Linked DNA regions of Homo sapiens: region 2 is linked to region 1. Evidence: promoter capture Hi-C in 16 types of primary human blood cells and fetal thymus (Javierre and others, 2016). All regions are on one chromosome and are shown on one strand. Each heading gives the region's core, a stretch centred on a gene start or on the middle of the fragment in contact. The rest is flanking DNA. Distances are from core to core; before and after follow the strand shown.

Region 1 (7,942 bases), core at 2,759-5,258:
GTTTATATATTTTAAGGTAAAATAAAACAATTAAGGGATGCATGGACCATTTTTTAATGATTCTCCACTTTATTTGAATTTTTTAAATTAAACATCAACTAAGAGGGATCCTTACACATAATAAAATGATATCCTTTTAGAATGCTCATTTAATAAATATGACAATTTCCCTGTATGAAAATTAGTATCTGATGAGCAAAATAAGATTGGGAAAAATGTATAGCAGGTAATGTTTATATATTAGTTTCAAACTTGTTGATAGATGGGACTTTTGAGAAATTATGCAGAAGGGGCAGCTTCACAACTAGCTACCTGACACTGCTCTGATCAGCCTGAGCATTTGTACTTTCTCACTGGCTACCAGGCTATTTTTACCTTCAAATTTCCACCTTCCTTCCAGCTAGCATCATATCATTTTTCTGGATCATGTCAATTAGACCCAACCCTTCCCACTACTACTTCCCCATACCATTATTTATGAATTAATCAATGAATGAAAAAAGTAGATATAAGAATGCAAAGTCTTCATTTATTCACTAATTCATCAAATATTTATTGAGTGCCTATCATGTGCCAGGCACTTTCTAGATACTTGGGGTATCAAAGTGAACAATGGCACTTAAATTCTAATACAAGAGACAAGAAGAACTAAGAGAAGAAATAAACCTAGAGTGATAAGGGTTGGGAAGGAAATAAAGCAATGTTTTATTAGAGACTACTGGGGGAGTGGGTTGGCTACTTCAATAGGGTGGTCAGAGAAGGTCTTCCTAAGGGCACAGCTTTGACATAAGACACGGATTAAATGAGAGAAGTCAGCCAAGATGTCTGGAAGGAAAGAGCACAGTAGAAGACACAGACAGTTCAGTGCCCCAAAGATGGAGCTGAGGAGGTGTAGCCAGGGCCTGGCACAATGGGGAGAGGAAAGCAAAGTGAGGATGTAGCAGCCAGGTGGCTAGGGGTGAGATTACGTAGGGCCTTATAGTTATGGTAAAGATTAGTGTTTCATTCTTTTTTTATTTTTTATTTTTTGAGATGGAGTTTTGCTCTTGTTGCCCAGGCTGGAGTGCAATGGCGCGATCTCGGCTCACCCCAACCTCCACCTCCCGGGTTCAAAGAATTCTCCTGCCTCAGCCTCCCTAGCAGCTGGGATTACAGGCATGTGCCACCACGCCCGGCTAATTTTGTATTTTTTTTTTAGTACAGATGGGGTTTCTCCCTGTTGGTCAGGCTGGTCTCGAAATCCCGACCACAGGTGATCCGCCGGCCTCGGCCTCCCAAAGTGCTGGGATTACAGGCATGAGCCACTGCGCCCGGCCTAGTGTTTCATTCTAAATGCAATGAGAAGCCACTGGGTTATTTTAAACAGGGAAATGGCATGACCTGATTTATACTTTTAAAAACTGTTGAGTGATCTGGTAAATAGACTGTAAGAGGGCCAGAACAGGAAGTAAGTTAGGTGGTTTCTGTAGTGTTCCAGGCAAAAAATGACACTGGTTTTGACGAGGTTATAGCCTCCAGGACTTAGTAATCGTGATGGGAGAAACATGGACAGATTTCAGATATCTTTTGGAGGTAGAGCTAACAGGACTTGCTGATGGATCAACAGCGTATGAAAACAGCATGTTAAGTAAACTTTTTAGTGTACGCCACAAGTGAGACATAGACGGTTGAGAACCTCTGGTCTAAGTAAAAGCTGGTTTCAGGTGGGGCAGGAGTGGTGCTGACTAGAGTGGGGCTATGGTAGGAGATGTGGGATAAGCCTTCCTCTGTTCTTGCAAATCTGGGAGCGTGAGTCCACAGAAGGCTTTACAAGGCTTGCCTTAGGCGCCGGAGTAGAGGGGAGGTAGAAGTCTCTAAGACTTAGTCATGTTCTGTAACAGTCCAGGACAAAATAGAAACCCCTGTCCTCCCCAACTGCGAAAAAGAGGCCAAAGGAAGCCCCCACACTCAAGAGCCCTGTCCTGCTAAAAAGAAGGTGCATTCCCAGCATACTGCATTAGAATCCAGACACAATTCCCCATAGAAATAAAATTTCCATAGCGGTTAGAGCCTACATTATTAGCAGTAATACACTTTTCAGGTAAACAGAATTAACAGGCTGGTGTGGAAAACTCAAGATTCCTATCAACATGGTTCTGTGGAACAATGAGTTTTGAGTTACAAATGGGTTAAAAAAAACGTTTAGCCTACAACCTGTGTTTCAACTTTTTAAGACTATCTCCTTGCATTACATTTTATAAACTAATAAATATCCCGAAAGGCTATATAATCAGGTTAATAGAAAAAAAAAGATCCTAAGTTATAAATCCACTATTTTTAAAGAGGCTAAATCTAAAAATATGTAAGGTATATTCGTGATTTTTCTTCTCATTTTCATAAATGCAAGCCAGACACAAATTACATTCAGAGACTGACAAACTTCACAGATCACAGAATCAGTACACATAACTACCTCTGAGTGAACACATGAGACCTTTCTGGAAGCCAGTCACACCACCAGAGCAGCTTCATTCTGTGAAGAAGTTCCAATGATCCGCCCGCCTTGGCCTCCCAAAGTGCTCGGATTATAGGCGTGAGCCACCACACCCGGCCCTAATACAGTTTATTTTAAACAGTGGATCAAACACATAAGCCATTTAATTTCTGCTGTCTAGGTGTTTTCGGGTTTTCTTCCATCATTAAATATTGTGCTGACCTGGTAACTTGGTAGCAATACGATGGCAAGGACTAAATTTACACCAAAAATAAAGTGCTGATTATATCACGTATATTTTAAAATACAACAGGTAAGATTTATTCTAAAGCTGTCAAAGAATGTTGGCTATAGAAAAAGTGACATTTGAGCTGGATTCTGAAGGATATATGAATCATTCACCAAATCGGGAGTAGACTGGGAATGGCACTGAAGATGTGGAAGTCTGACTAAAGAATTTGAACTTTACCTCACTGGACAACGCAAACCTACCAATGAGGTAGCTTTTATATAATTTTTCTGCAGAAAAGTGATATAAGATGCCTTTTAAAACTGGTATCGGCCAATATAAAAGGATAAAGTGCAGAAGCATGAGGCAATTAAAACTGTTTGGGAGGCTACATTTAAGAAGGAGTTATGAACAGCGGGGTTGGAACGAGAGGGCAAATTGGAGCGACACTTTAGGAGGTAGAACCAAGATAATTTACCATCCAAGTCAATGGGAGGGAGTCAAGGAAGGCTTCAACTTGAAAGACTTATCATGAAAGGTGACAGAATATGAAGAACGACATCTAATTTCATCTCCTATCTCTGACACACAACCATCCTAAACAACTTGCAACTCCACCAAGCCAGGCTTTTTGCACTTGCTGTTCCATCTATCTGTGCTGCCTAGTGAGTTTGGCGAGCTCATGCTTCCCAAGCAGCACTTTCTTCAGAGGGCCTGCCCTGACTACAACCAAAAAAGGTGCCTAGTCCCTGTGCTCCAGTACCCCGCAGCGCAGCCCTCTAATAAAAACAGGCCCCAAGCCAGTTTACACATCTGTCTCTCTCTCGACAGCTGGCATCCAGTCTACCCTTCACTACCGTCTCCCCAATGCTGAGCCCCCAAGGAGCGTTCCATAAATGTTAAGTGGCTGGCCGCGGACGAAGAGGCTCAGACCGCGCGAGTTCTTATCATTACTAAAATTCCCTCTAACGGGAAAAACCGCCGCCCAGAGTGCCAGAGGGCTGCGGACCCCACGTCCATGACCCTCATGCACCCGAAACTCCCGAGCTGGCCCTCCCCGCCGAACCCCGAGAACGAGCACAAACGCAGGGCCGGCCGGCTCCGGGGTCAGTCCCCCGGCCCAGCTCCAGCCCGGCTCTCAGGCTCGCCGCATTACCTAGACAGGACCTCCAAGTCCTCAAGCGCAGACAGCAGCCGCTCTCGTGTGCTGTTACCACCCGCCACTCCCAAACCGCCTCCCAGCCGCTCCTTCTCCTTCTCACCACTCGAAGACGCAGCCATTTTCCCCAGAGTCCCGCCACCGGCGCACGCGCAGAGCGAGCTGACGCAGGTGCGTGGCGAGAAGGCGGGCTCGGAAGGCGGAAGAGTCACCCAGGAGAGGAAAAAGAGGCCTGGCGAGAGCGCCCCCTTTGGGCCTGGAGGCGCACTGCGGACACCGGCGCCATCTGTTGGGCCGGCGAGGGCTTTCTGGTCCAAACCCTGGGAGCGACAGCTGAACTGAGAACAGTGGGGGCAACGCAGTCTGATTCTCCTGGGCCTAATGGTTTTTTTTCTTTCTTTCTTTCTTTTTTTTTTTTTGAGACGAGTCTCGCTCTGTTGCCCAGACTGGAGTGCATCGCCGCGGATGTCTTGGCTCACTGCAAGTTCCGCCTCCTGGGTTCACGCCATTTTTCCTGCCTCAGCCTCCCGAGTAGCTGGGACTACAGGCGACCGCCACCACGCCCGGCTAATTTTTTGTATTTTTAGTAGAGACGGGGTTTCACCTTGTTAGCCAGGATGGTCTCAATCTCCTGACCTCGTGATCCGCCTGCCTCAGCCTCCCAAAGTGGTGGAATTACAGGCGTGAGCCACCGCACCCGGCCCACCTTAACCATTTTTAAGTGGATAGTTCAGTGGCATTAAATACATTCATACTGTTGAGCAACTATCCATCTCCAAAACCTTTTATCTTGTAAAACAAACTCTGTACTCACTAAATGCTAACTCCTTATCCCTCCCTTCTCCAGGCCCTGGCAACCACCATTCTACTTTCCATTGCTGTAAGTTTGGCTACTCTAGGTACCTCATATAAGCAGAATCATACAGTATTTGTCTTTTTGTGTCTGGCTTATGTCACTCAGCATTATGTCCTCCAGGTTCATCCATGATGTAGCATGTGCTGGAATATCTTTCCTTTTTAAGACTAATATTCCATTGTATGCATATGGCACCTTTTGTTCATCCATTCATCTGACGATGGACAGTTAGGTTACTTCCACATTGCTATAATCCATCTTTATAGCCATACATCTTCCAACAAAATGTTTTGCTCATTACTCAGGTTAATTATTGAACTGAAGGAACCAATACAGTACATAAGTAGTAGTTAATTAACATAGTTTAAGTCATTGATGTACCACACATTCCAAACCAGAACTGGTTGTCAAAGGCAAAAATACGTCTTAGCCTACTTTTCCTAGGGATAACAATGTAGTAGGGATCACTCTCTACCAGAAAAAAGCAAAGTTACAAGCCTATTGGGAATGAGGATTCCATATTGCTATTATAAAAGATGGTCTGGGACTGCCTCACTCCCATGAGGTAGTAGTACCTGTAGTCCTTTCATTTCAGGGTCTCATCCTCTACTCTGTCTTTTTGGAGGTGCTAAACCTGACTCCTGGGCACCCAGAGTTGACAAGTCTTTTAGAAATTCATGTTAAATAAATTCACTCATAGCAACTGCTGCGTAATCTAGAATGCTGATTTACTCACTTACGATGAAAAGTAATAGTGCCAAACATATCTTTTTCCCATAGACAAAACTATATGAGAAGCCATATTATCACAGGATGTTGCTTGTTAAACTTGGATCAGAACAAACAAGGATAGATTAAAAATTAATGACACAATCATGAGGCTTTGTGTCTCCACAGTGTAGGGATATTTGTGTTCAAGAGATTGGATTATTTGTGTTCATAGGTCAGGGTACCTTTTCCTCTAGACAGTGCAAGAGATCCTTGTCACCTTTTGTTTTCTGACCGTTCCCTGCATCTGCTGTTGGCTAACCCTTTTTTGTTAATGCAGTCAATTCTCAGGCAATGGGCTAAAGTAGATTGAAGCTTTGTTCATTACACTTGCATTCTAAACATGCCTCTCAGTACTCTAGTCAATCATTTCTTATGTTAAGTTTCCAGGGTGCCAAACTTCTGCGGTATGTGTTGGTTTTGTTTACTCAACTCTCACGGGTCATATTGAGCCATGACTCTGGTAGGAGGAGAGAGAACATTATATTAGTGTAAACATAAAAATTCTAGAAGGATTCTAATTAGTTAAAAATGACCAATTATAGTCCTACTTTGCAGACACTGAGGATCAGTGTGTGGAGCATGTATGTGTATTGTGAACTCCTGACCTCCTCAGATTTATTGCAAATTCATATGCATATTAAACAGTTTCTATAGACTGATAAGTAATAGCATCTTTCACAGATATACTGTCTTGCAAATTGTACAAATCCAGGCGTGATAAACAAATATGAATTATTTTATATAGTATTACTGAATTCATGGTAATTTGGAGTTAGGTACATATTTTCTCAATCTGTAGATTCAAAAAGGACACTACTTTCTCATGAAATTTTATTGACATGGTGGGCAGTGTTCTAAGCACTTCAAAAATATTAACTTGTTTAATTTTCCTAACACTCCTATGAGGTAAGTACTGTTACTATCCCTATGTTACAGATAATGAAACTGAGGGGCAGAAATGTTAAGACACATGCCGGGGTCATATAGTAAATGGCAAAGCTGGAATCTGAACCCAGAGTCTGGCTCCAGGGTCTGTGCTCTTTACCACTGGTTATCCCAGCTCTCTGTAAAGAAAGAAGGATATTCAGGTACTAAAAGGACTGGGAACCTCTGACCTAAAATATGAGAGGACTTCAAAAAGTTCATGGAAAAATGGAATTAAAAGATAATAATTTAAAATATAAACTTTATTTCTCAACATAAGCTCCATCTAGTTCAAGACACTTTTGTAAATGACGATACCAGCCATTTAGTTCATCCCTAAATAAATGAGGGCCCTTGGAATTTAACCGTGTCAATGCTGTCTTTTTTACTTTTTTCTTTTCTTTTTTTTTTTGCCACAGGGTCTCACTCTCTGTCACTCAGGCTGGAGGGCAGTGGTGCAACCACAGCTCACTGCAACCTTGACCTCCCAGGCTCAAGCAATCCTCCCAATACATTATTAACTGAAGAAAAATGAGTGCCCTTTACAGATTTTATTTATTTATTTAGTTTTGAGACAGAGTCTTGCTCTGTTGTCTTGCTCAAGCTGGAGTGCAGTGGCACAATCTTGGCTCACTGCAACCTCCACCTCCCGGGTTCAAGTGATTCTCCTGTCTCAGCCTCCCGAGTAGCTGGGATTACAGGCATGTGCCACCATGCCTAGCTAATTTTTGTATTTTTAGTAGAGATGGGGTTTTGCCATGATGGCCAGGCTGGTCTCAAACTCCTGACCTCAAGTGATCCACCCCCCTCGGCCTCCCAAAGTGCTGGGACTACAGGCATGAGACACTGAGCCTGGCCCAGATTTTTTTAAGATTAGGAAACAAAAAGAAGTCAGATCAGGACTGTAAGGTGGATGTTCAATGATTTCCCATTGAAACATTTCCAAAATTGTCCTTGTTTGATGAGAGGAATGAGCAGGAGTATTGTTGTGGTGGAGAAGGACTCTCCGGTGAAGCTTTCTCGGGTGTTTTTCTGCTAAAGCTTTTGCTAACTTTCTCAAAACACTCTCATAATAAGCCATTGTTATCATTCTTTGGCTTTCCAGAAAGTCACCAGACAAAATGCCTTGAGCATCCCAAAAACTGTTGCCATGCTGTTTGATCTTGACTGGTCTGCTTTTGCTTTGACTGGACCACTTCCACCTCTTGATAGCCATTGCTTCGATTTTGCTTTATCATCAGGATTGTGCTGGTAAAGCCATTTTTCATCTCCTGTTACAGCTCTTCAAAGAAGTGCCTCAGGATCTTGATCTCACTTGTTTAAAATTTCCATTGAATGCCCTGCTCTTGTCTGCAGGTGATTTGGGCATAACAGTTTTGGCATCCATTGATTGGAAAGTTTGCTCAACTTTAGTTTTTGAGTCAGAATTGTATAGGCTGAACAAATTGAGATGTCTATAGTGTTGTCTATTAATTGCTTGTCCTCTGCAATTAGGGCACAAACAAGATAAATATTTTCCTTGCAAATTGA
Region 2 (7,942 bases), core at 1,589-4,088, 1.3 Mb before region 1:
CCATAAAGGTAGAATCAGGATGATAAAAAAGAGAGGAAACATGAATCAAGTACTCTGTATAACTTAGTTTAAGATTGTTTCTTTCATGAAATGGTAGATATTGCAGGGACAGCCTGGGAGAAAAAGTCAGAAAAATAGTTCCCTTCTAACTCCTGCCCATATTATCAGCACACTCAGAATTGTAGAACAAAGAGTGTTGTGGTTACTGCTTCTGACCGTCTTTAGAGTCTAATACATGGTCTCACACCAGCCAAGAACACCGGTTTATTCCAGAATTGGGGGCCACTGCCTCACTCTTGCCATCCATCTGGAAAAAGGTTTTTGGAGAATCTCTAATCTAACTTCTGCATACTCAGAACAGAGTTCCGCTTCATCCAAGCACAGGCATGACTGTCCTAACCTCATGTCACCTCACATTGGCCATCGTGGCCAGGAAAGAACGCTGAGTTGATGTAATATTCAACACAAATCTTTCTTAGTGACATTTGCCATTATCTTCAAAGACTTAATTAACAATATTTGTCACTTGCCTATGCAAGCCCATCCAGGATTCTTGGAAGGTGGAGATAAATGACATCAGAGCTGTTCATAAGGACACTTATTGTGGCTAATGACTCTTCATTTCCTCCATCCCTCTCTGTTCCTGGCCCATTGTTTGCAACATTCAAGAAGAGATTGATGAGCTGTGCCTCCAAGGAGAACATCCTCTGAGACCCTGGATATTGACCAGTTTTGCTTATCCTTCGGAAAACTCTTGATTGTAAAAGTAAGGGCATGATTTCTAAGAAGAGTGTTTTTCTCCCAGTGTTTGAATCTAGATCTGTGAAAGATATTTCCTGTACTCATGTACAAGGTCTTCTTAGACAGCACAGTTGCTCATTGATTAGAAAGGATGCTTTGTTCAACCATTTGAGACATCCCTGGATTTGAGTCTTGGCTGTGGCTCTGGGCTCCTGAATTGGTTACTTCATTCCTATAGTCCCCACTTCTTCATCTATCGTGGGAGGCTGGCACCAACATACCTTCATGCATTTGGTGAGGATAAAATGGATCAAATTTGCAGAGCACCTAGCACAGCACCCAGTCCATAGTGATGTTCTACCAGTGGTCAATAAACATGAGAGTAGCTTTCTCTGCAGAACTATTTATATTAAATATATCAACATTATTTTATTCTAATCCATTTTGCTTAGTTTGTATACACTAGATTTTATATAGCAGATCTTTTTAAACCAAAAGAGACTAAAAAGACTTTTGGCTATTGGCCGTAGAGTTAACACTGATGTAATTTTAGCTTCTGCCAGGGTGACGCCGGGTCTTAATCAATTTTAATTTTGTGCAGCTAGAACTGTTGATTACTTTCCTAATGTGATGAATTACAGCATTACTATTAGTCATGATACACAGAAACAAGATATCAACCGTCCAAAAAAGGTGTGTGATTTTGTTATTAAACTCTTGAGTGTTCTTTTTCTAATTAATACAAAGGAAGTAACTACCTTGAGAGCCTTTTGCCCTATTTGCTTATAACCTAGTAATGTACATAAGTGGCAATTCTCAATTAACCAGAATGTGGGCTTACCTAAAATGCCAAATTCTTTAATTATTTGGAATAGTGTCTTTGGTTGGACACACACATACACACACACACACACACACACACACACACACCCTTACAGAATAGCCCAGTTTCTGAGAGGGGTGATGGAGTCATCTGCACTGAAATAGAGAATCCCTCTCTTAAATGCCCGGGATAAAAAGCCACTCTACAAGAGGATGTGGTAAGAGGTTACACGCAGAGCTGTTCTGTCTGGAAGGGGGATATTAATTTGGAAGTGGAGAATCAAGCTGATCAGTTATTTAAATGGCCTATTCATCTTTACATATAACAAAAACATCCTGAATACTATCGTATACCATTCTTTTTCCATGCCTCACTCATAGTATCTGGTCAGCAAGGGTTGTAGAAAGAATAACCAGAAAGTTAAAGTAATACTCTATAAAGAGGAGAGGAAATTTTATGTCAAAAAACTTAGAACACATAGATAGGCTTTGTGGGTACAATCAGCAGCTCAAAAGCATGTGCCTCTACCAAGAGAGATGAAGACATGGGCTGATATCCAATATCGTGGTCACAGCCATCTCTAGGGCATTAATTATCTGGCTGCTTTGTTTGACAATAGCTGCTTTTGGAGACCTGACATCTCCTCTCACTTGAAATTTCTGCATATAAAGCATTTTCCTTTATGAACAAAACAGACAGTAACCTGAATTACATGACTCTGCATTTTGTTTAATATATTTTTTCTGAAGAGTGGAAAACAGCAGTCAAAATTCACTATCAGTATTAGATCCTCTATGTAGCATTTTATTCATTTCCATTGAAACTCAGACAATAAAATGAATGGGAAACCTTGACACCTAAGAACACAAAAGCTTTGGTTGGTGTCTTTCTTTCAGCATGGCTCTGCTTACTTCCTGCACATAAACTTTGCACCTCTAGTTAACATCTTACCACAGGCTGCATCAATAATTCACTTTGAACCGCTGGCTGTGAAGGACTGGCTTTATTCTTAATCTTGGACTTTTTCTGAGACAGTGTACATTTCTTGGGAAATAAGAAGATTGCCTTCCTAGATAACCATTCTCTTGTAGGGAACAGGACAGTGGCAGTCCCTAGGGCCCTCAGCTGGAAAGGAGGTGGAGGGCAGAGAAGTTATTTCGGGGCTCTTGTGAAAAAGATTGAAATTTGGGTTCATAGGTTTCTGTTTCCCCAAACTGCTACCTTTTCTTTGAATTTTAATGCATGCTGTATTTTTCAAGTTATAAGAACAAATTTACTAGTAGTTTGACAGAAGACACCACTGGTAAACACTGCAGGATAATCCTCATATTACAGGGAAAGAAGAATTGAATATATAGGGCAACTGCCAATGGGACTCACTATCCTGATACAGAGTGGCTAAATTCCTTCTAATCTATGTATGGTGTGTTGACAAGGCAGATGTACATAAAAATGAGAGCTACACAAACATGTCAGTTACCCAAAAGCTGTATGTTTCTTTTTCTCAGATTAATTCCAAATAGCTCTGATAATAAATTGCAACTTTTCAAGGTATTATCACACATATTTGTTTATTCACTCTAAATTGATTTTTACAAAATTGTTAAAACATTACCCACACCTTCTTATGGGGCAGATGAAAATCTCACTTTACAGATATGAAAACTTGGGCCTACCAAGCTTAAGTAATTTAGTTAGAATCACACAGAAAGTTGGGGGCAAAATCAAGACCTCTACTCAGGGTTCTTAATTCTTATGGTGGATTTTTAAAAACTGCTTATTTGTTCCTTTGAAGGTAGTTACAAAAGTCTATGACTACCTCTGAGGTTTTTAACATTGGCTTCAGGAAGTCTATGATAATCCTAAAATCTGAAAAATTTGTATATATGTATATTTCCTTGGAGATAGATCTTTCCTTAGATGGGCAGAAAAATTCTAGCCCCTAATATGACTAATAAGCACTAAATTACACCAATTGATATGGTTTCATTCTGTGTCTCCACCCAAATCTCATCTTGAATTGTAATCCTCATAATCCCCACATGTCGGGACAGGGACCTGGTGGGAGGTGATTGGATCATGGGGAGGTTTCTCCCATGCTGTTCTCGTGATAGTGAGAGTTCTCACGAGATCTGATGGTTTTATGTGTTTGACAGTTCCTCCTTCCCACGCTCTCTCTCACCTGCCACCATGTAAGATGCACCTGCTTCCCTTTCTGGCATGATCGTAAGTTTCCTGAGGCCTCCCCAGCCATGTGGAACTGTGAGTCAATTAAACCTCTTTCCTTTATAAATTACCCAGTCTTGGGCATTTCTTTATAGCAGTGTGAGAACAGACTAATACGCCGATGTTGCATGTACAGCACAAACTCTCTCTCTCTCTCCACCACCCCCACCAGTGATTTTCTGTACCTTGATTTTGTTTTTGCATTCTTTCATCTCAAAGCCACAAGTTCCTCTAGCCAGACATTAAATTCATTGAGGCCAGAAAAATAGTTCAAAAATAAAATCCTTATAATCAACATTTAGTTTCTTTCAAATACTAGGGAAGTTATTCTCAACTGTAGCTGCACATTAGAATCACTGAGGGAGTTTTAAAAGTTACATTGCCTGAGCCTCATTCTCGGGGGTTCTGATGTTAGTACTTTAAAAAATATAAATGCCCAGGCACTACATAAACATGAAAACAACAACCACTCCAGGGATCTCTGTAAGCAGTTGTGCACTGCAGAAGCTGGTGGCCTAATTGCCCCCATCATAGATTCCTTATAAAGTGGTCTCTGTCTCCTCTGACCCTCCTTCCTTTTCTTTTCCATTTCATAGCCTAGAGGTTGTGCTTCAATATAAAGATCTTGCACTGAAAGGCGAAGAGATTGAATTCTGGCTTGTAGATGGGGCTTGTCAGCCGTCACTGCAACACTTAAGAACCCATCCACATCTCTCTTGTCTCAGAGAAGATTGACTTTCATCTACCATTTCAGCCCCCAGACAATATATTACAAAACCCAAAGAGAATCTGAACCATATAATATAATTTGAATAAATAACCAGAGCCTTGTTTTGTTGTTGGAATCACAAGTAATAAGGCAACTTCTGCTGATCACTATGTTAGTTAGCTTAATTTCATCATTCTACATTGTAGGCATCGACCAAAATATCACATTTGTACGTCATCAATGATACAATTATGATTCACAAATGAAAAATAATATTAATAATAAAAATAAAACTCTTCAATGCCACAGAAAGTTGGGGGCAAAATCAAGACCTGCCTCCTTCTTTTTTAATGAGTGGATATTACACTATCTACCCCTAGCAGGTGCTCTTTTCTAGGCTGCATATTTAGCAACGTGCTCATGAGTAAAGATTTATTTAGAAAAAAAACTCATCTCTGTCCTACATTATTGGGCCCCATCTTGAAAGTATTGTATCCTTTCTCCCATTTCTATCAAGGGGGCAGATTTTGGAGTGATTCTCTCTGAAAGCTTGGAGAATGAGTCTTACATGTGACATGTCTCATTTCAGAGACTCTGGTCTAGAAGGTGTGGGGAGAAACAGCCATGGTGTCTGGAAAGCTAGATTGCGGCAGGTGCGCACATAATCTAGACCCACAACAGTCAGTTCTCTTTCCTCCAGCCTCGCTTGTATGCAGCATCCTAAAGCACCTTTTCCATCATATTACACAAGAGCCTATAGTGTCCCTAACACTCGAGCAATTACCAGCTACTCAGCCCACCCTACAGGGTCTTTGTAATCTGATTTTAACATAATTATTCAACTTTCTCAATAGTCATATGGTGTTCTCTCTCTGTTGCTCTCTTCTTTATGTTATGTCTTGAACTATTCAGGAGGATATTACCCATAGCAAGATTTTTCAACCAGTCACAGAGTGTGATTTAAGGAGCCCCCAAGTCCTGCCTCCTCTCATATATGTCTTCTCTCAGTAGCTTGCTTGGTATACAGTAGTCCTCCCTTAAGCTTGCTTTCCCTTTCCATAGCTTCGGTTACCCAGTCAACCACAGTCCGAAAATATTAAATGGAAAATGCCAGAAATAAACAATTCGTAAGTTTTACATTGTTAACTGTTCTGAGTAGTGTGATAAAATCTTGTGTTGTCCTACTCCACCCCACCTGGGATGTAAGCCATCCCTTGGTACAGTGGATCCATGCTGCAGATGCTCTGTGCCCATAAGTCACTTAGTAGCCATTTCAGCAGATCAACTATTGTGGGATCACAATGCTTGTGTTCAAGAAACCCTTATTTTACCCAAGAATGGCCCCAAAGTGCAAGAGTAGTGAGGTTGGCATATTGTTATAATTGTTCTATTTTATTATTAATGATTGTTAGTCTCTTACTGTGTCTAATCTATAAAATAACTTTATCACAGGTATGTGCACATAGAAAAAACATAGTATATATAGGGTTCAGTACAATCCACAGTGTCTGGCATCCACTAGGGGTCTTGGAATGTGAGCCCCAAGGGTAAGGGGAAACTATTGTACTGCAGTGTCTCTCTGTTAGAGTGAGAGGTCCATTCTGTGTACCTATAATACCCTGGAGGGTTGACTATTAACCTAAGTTCATGGTGCAGCAGCACAAAGACGCATAGTAGGGAGGACTCCTGAGGGCATAGGCCTTGGAAAGGAAGGTTGCCCTAGGAGGGAAGACATACAAGATTGCTCAGGGATGCAGGTCTGAGGGAGGTATGGTGGCTGTGCCATGCTGGGCTGTTCGTTAAAGCCCAGAGCACCATGGGGAAGGGGCAATCTAAACGGCTACTGGGAGGTACAGAGACTTACTTTTCATTTTTGCCCTGGACCAATTTTGATGACTTTCCTTTCCCTGAAATGCTACACCAATGAGTAGGGGCTCCAGGATTTCTATGTAGCAGGGGCTTAGGAGTGGCGGCTGGAGGGCATGGGGGAATGAGGCAACCTGTCTTGAGGCTACATTTGCATACAAAACACATTATTGTACTTTAACTGTACAATTATTTGGGAGTGCTTTGGGAATCTGCAGATGGAGATCATGTTTCCAAACCACACCCTACAATTTTTTTCAAAACGTATCTCAAGGCACATCCGCTATATGAAACCTTCCCCAAATTAATTCTCTCTATAATAAGAACTATTTTTCTTACTCAATATTCCTTCAACACCTCCATAAATAAATTATACTGTGCTAGTTCACACTTTCAATATCTTAGAATTTTTCTCTAGACATGTCATTATATTCATGAGATGACAATCTCATTAATAGCAGGGATATCTTTTTCTTTGTGTATTGTAAGACATCCCAGCATCGAATGTGCTTCTGCTTATACTTAGAGCTTAGTAAATGCTTGTGGGATTGATGGGTAAACAAATGAGAGAGAGGAAAATAAAAGAGAGAGTTGGGAATTATAATACACTTTATAGACACAGCTTGAAGTTACTGAATAATTTCGTAATGCTTCCCTTCATTTTTGTTGGGAAAACACAGTAATGAGGCTGCCAATTAGCCACATAGGGTGGAAAAAAGAAAATGGACATTTGTATGATACAAAATTTGTATACTACATAATTCGTACACTCTTTTAAGGGAGGCACATATAGGATTAACCAGCACATGAGCTGACCACCTTAACAGCTAAAATCACAAGGGAAAAGATCGCTGTAGAACATGGTGCCTAGTGAGAATCAGGAGACTTGCGTTTATTCCTGTCTGTTCTGACTCATATCCTGGATCTAGGCCCGTTATTTTTCACAAAGTGTCTTTCAGGTAAATTAAACAAGTATGTATCAGCAAACTGGAGCATGAATATAGTGGGAAAATCACAGAATTTGGAATCACAAGACACAGGTTTGCCTCCAGACTCTGTTAATCACTAGCTGGGTGACCTTAGGCTGCTTAACTTTCAAGCTTCCATCTGTAAGGTGGAGATAATATAAAGAGGCCTCCTCTAATTTTCATGCAAGGCTTTGGTGAAAAAGCAGTGAGATGATGAGTCTGAATCATTTTGTAAAGTTTTAAGATTTATTTAGATGAGAGTGATTATAATTTACTTAGCACTATGTGAGACTCTGGGTAAAGCAAAAGACCTTTGAGACATTTCATGATGTCTAAGATCTTTTTTTTTTAAGCTTTTTATTATGGAAAATTTTAAACACACGAAACTACAGAAAATAGTACTGTGAACCCTATGTACACATCACCCAAGTTCAATATAATCATGATGTCTAAGATCTTATAGGGAAAACAAAATATACACAATTGATTTAGGAAGGCAGCAGTGCAGGACAGAATGAGATCGAGAGGCAAAATAGATGACATAGATAAATTCCTATGTGATGTCACAGTGCGAGGCTCATTGTTGGTTGGCATCCCTGGGAAAGGCAC

The links. Contacts are between HindIII fragments. The CHiCAGO score rates a contact against its expected background, and 5 or more counts as called.
Region 2: a fragment that was not itself captured here is called in contact with the fragment with the promoter of MED4 in region 1 in 1 of 17 cell types (megakaryocytes); the score reaches 6.4 in megakaryocytes.

Annotation. Positions count from the first base shown.
Region 1 is chr13:48,091,096-48,099,037 of GRCh38, forward strand. MED4 (mediator complex subunit 4) reads right to left here and starts at 4,009. Exons shown (of 7, transcript NM_014166.4): 1 at 3,859-4,009. The coding sequence starts at 3,983. RefSeq lists a silencer at 3,218-3,512. The HindIII fragment of the contact is 8,460 bases long and covers 1-5,798 here.
Region 2 is chr13:46,837,339-46,845,280 of GRCh38, forward strand. The region is part of intron 3 of HTR2A (5-hydroxytryptamine receptor 2A); the gene reads right to left. Among named protein-coding and RNA genes, the nearest start is that of HTR2A-AS1, 11 kb to the right of the region's middle. The HindIII fragment of the contact is 808 bases long and covers 2,435-3,242 here.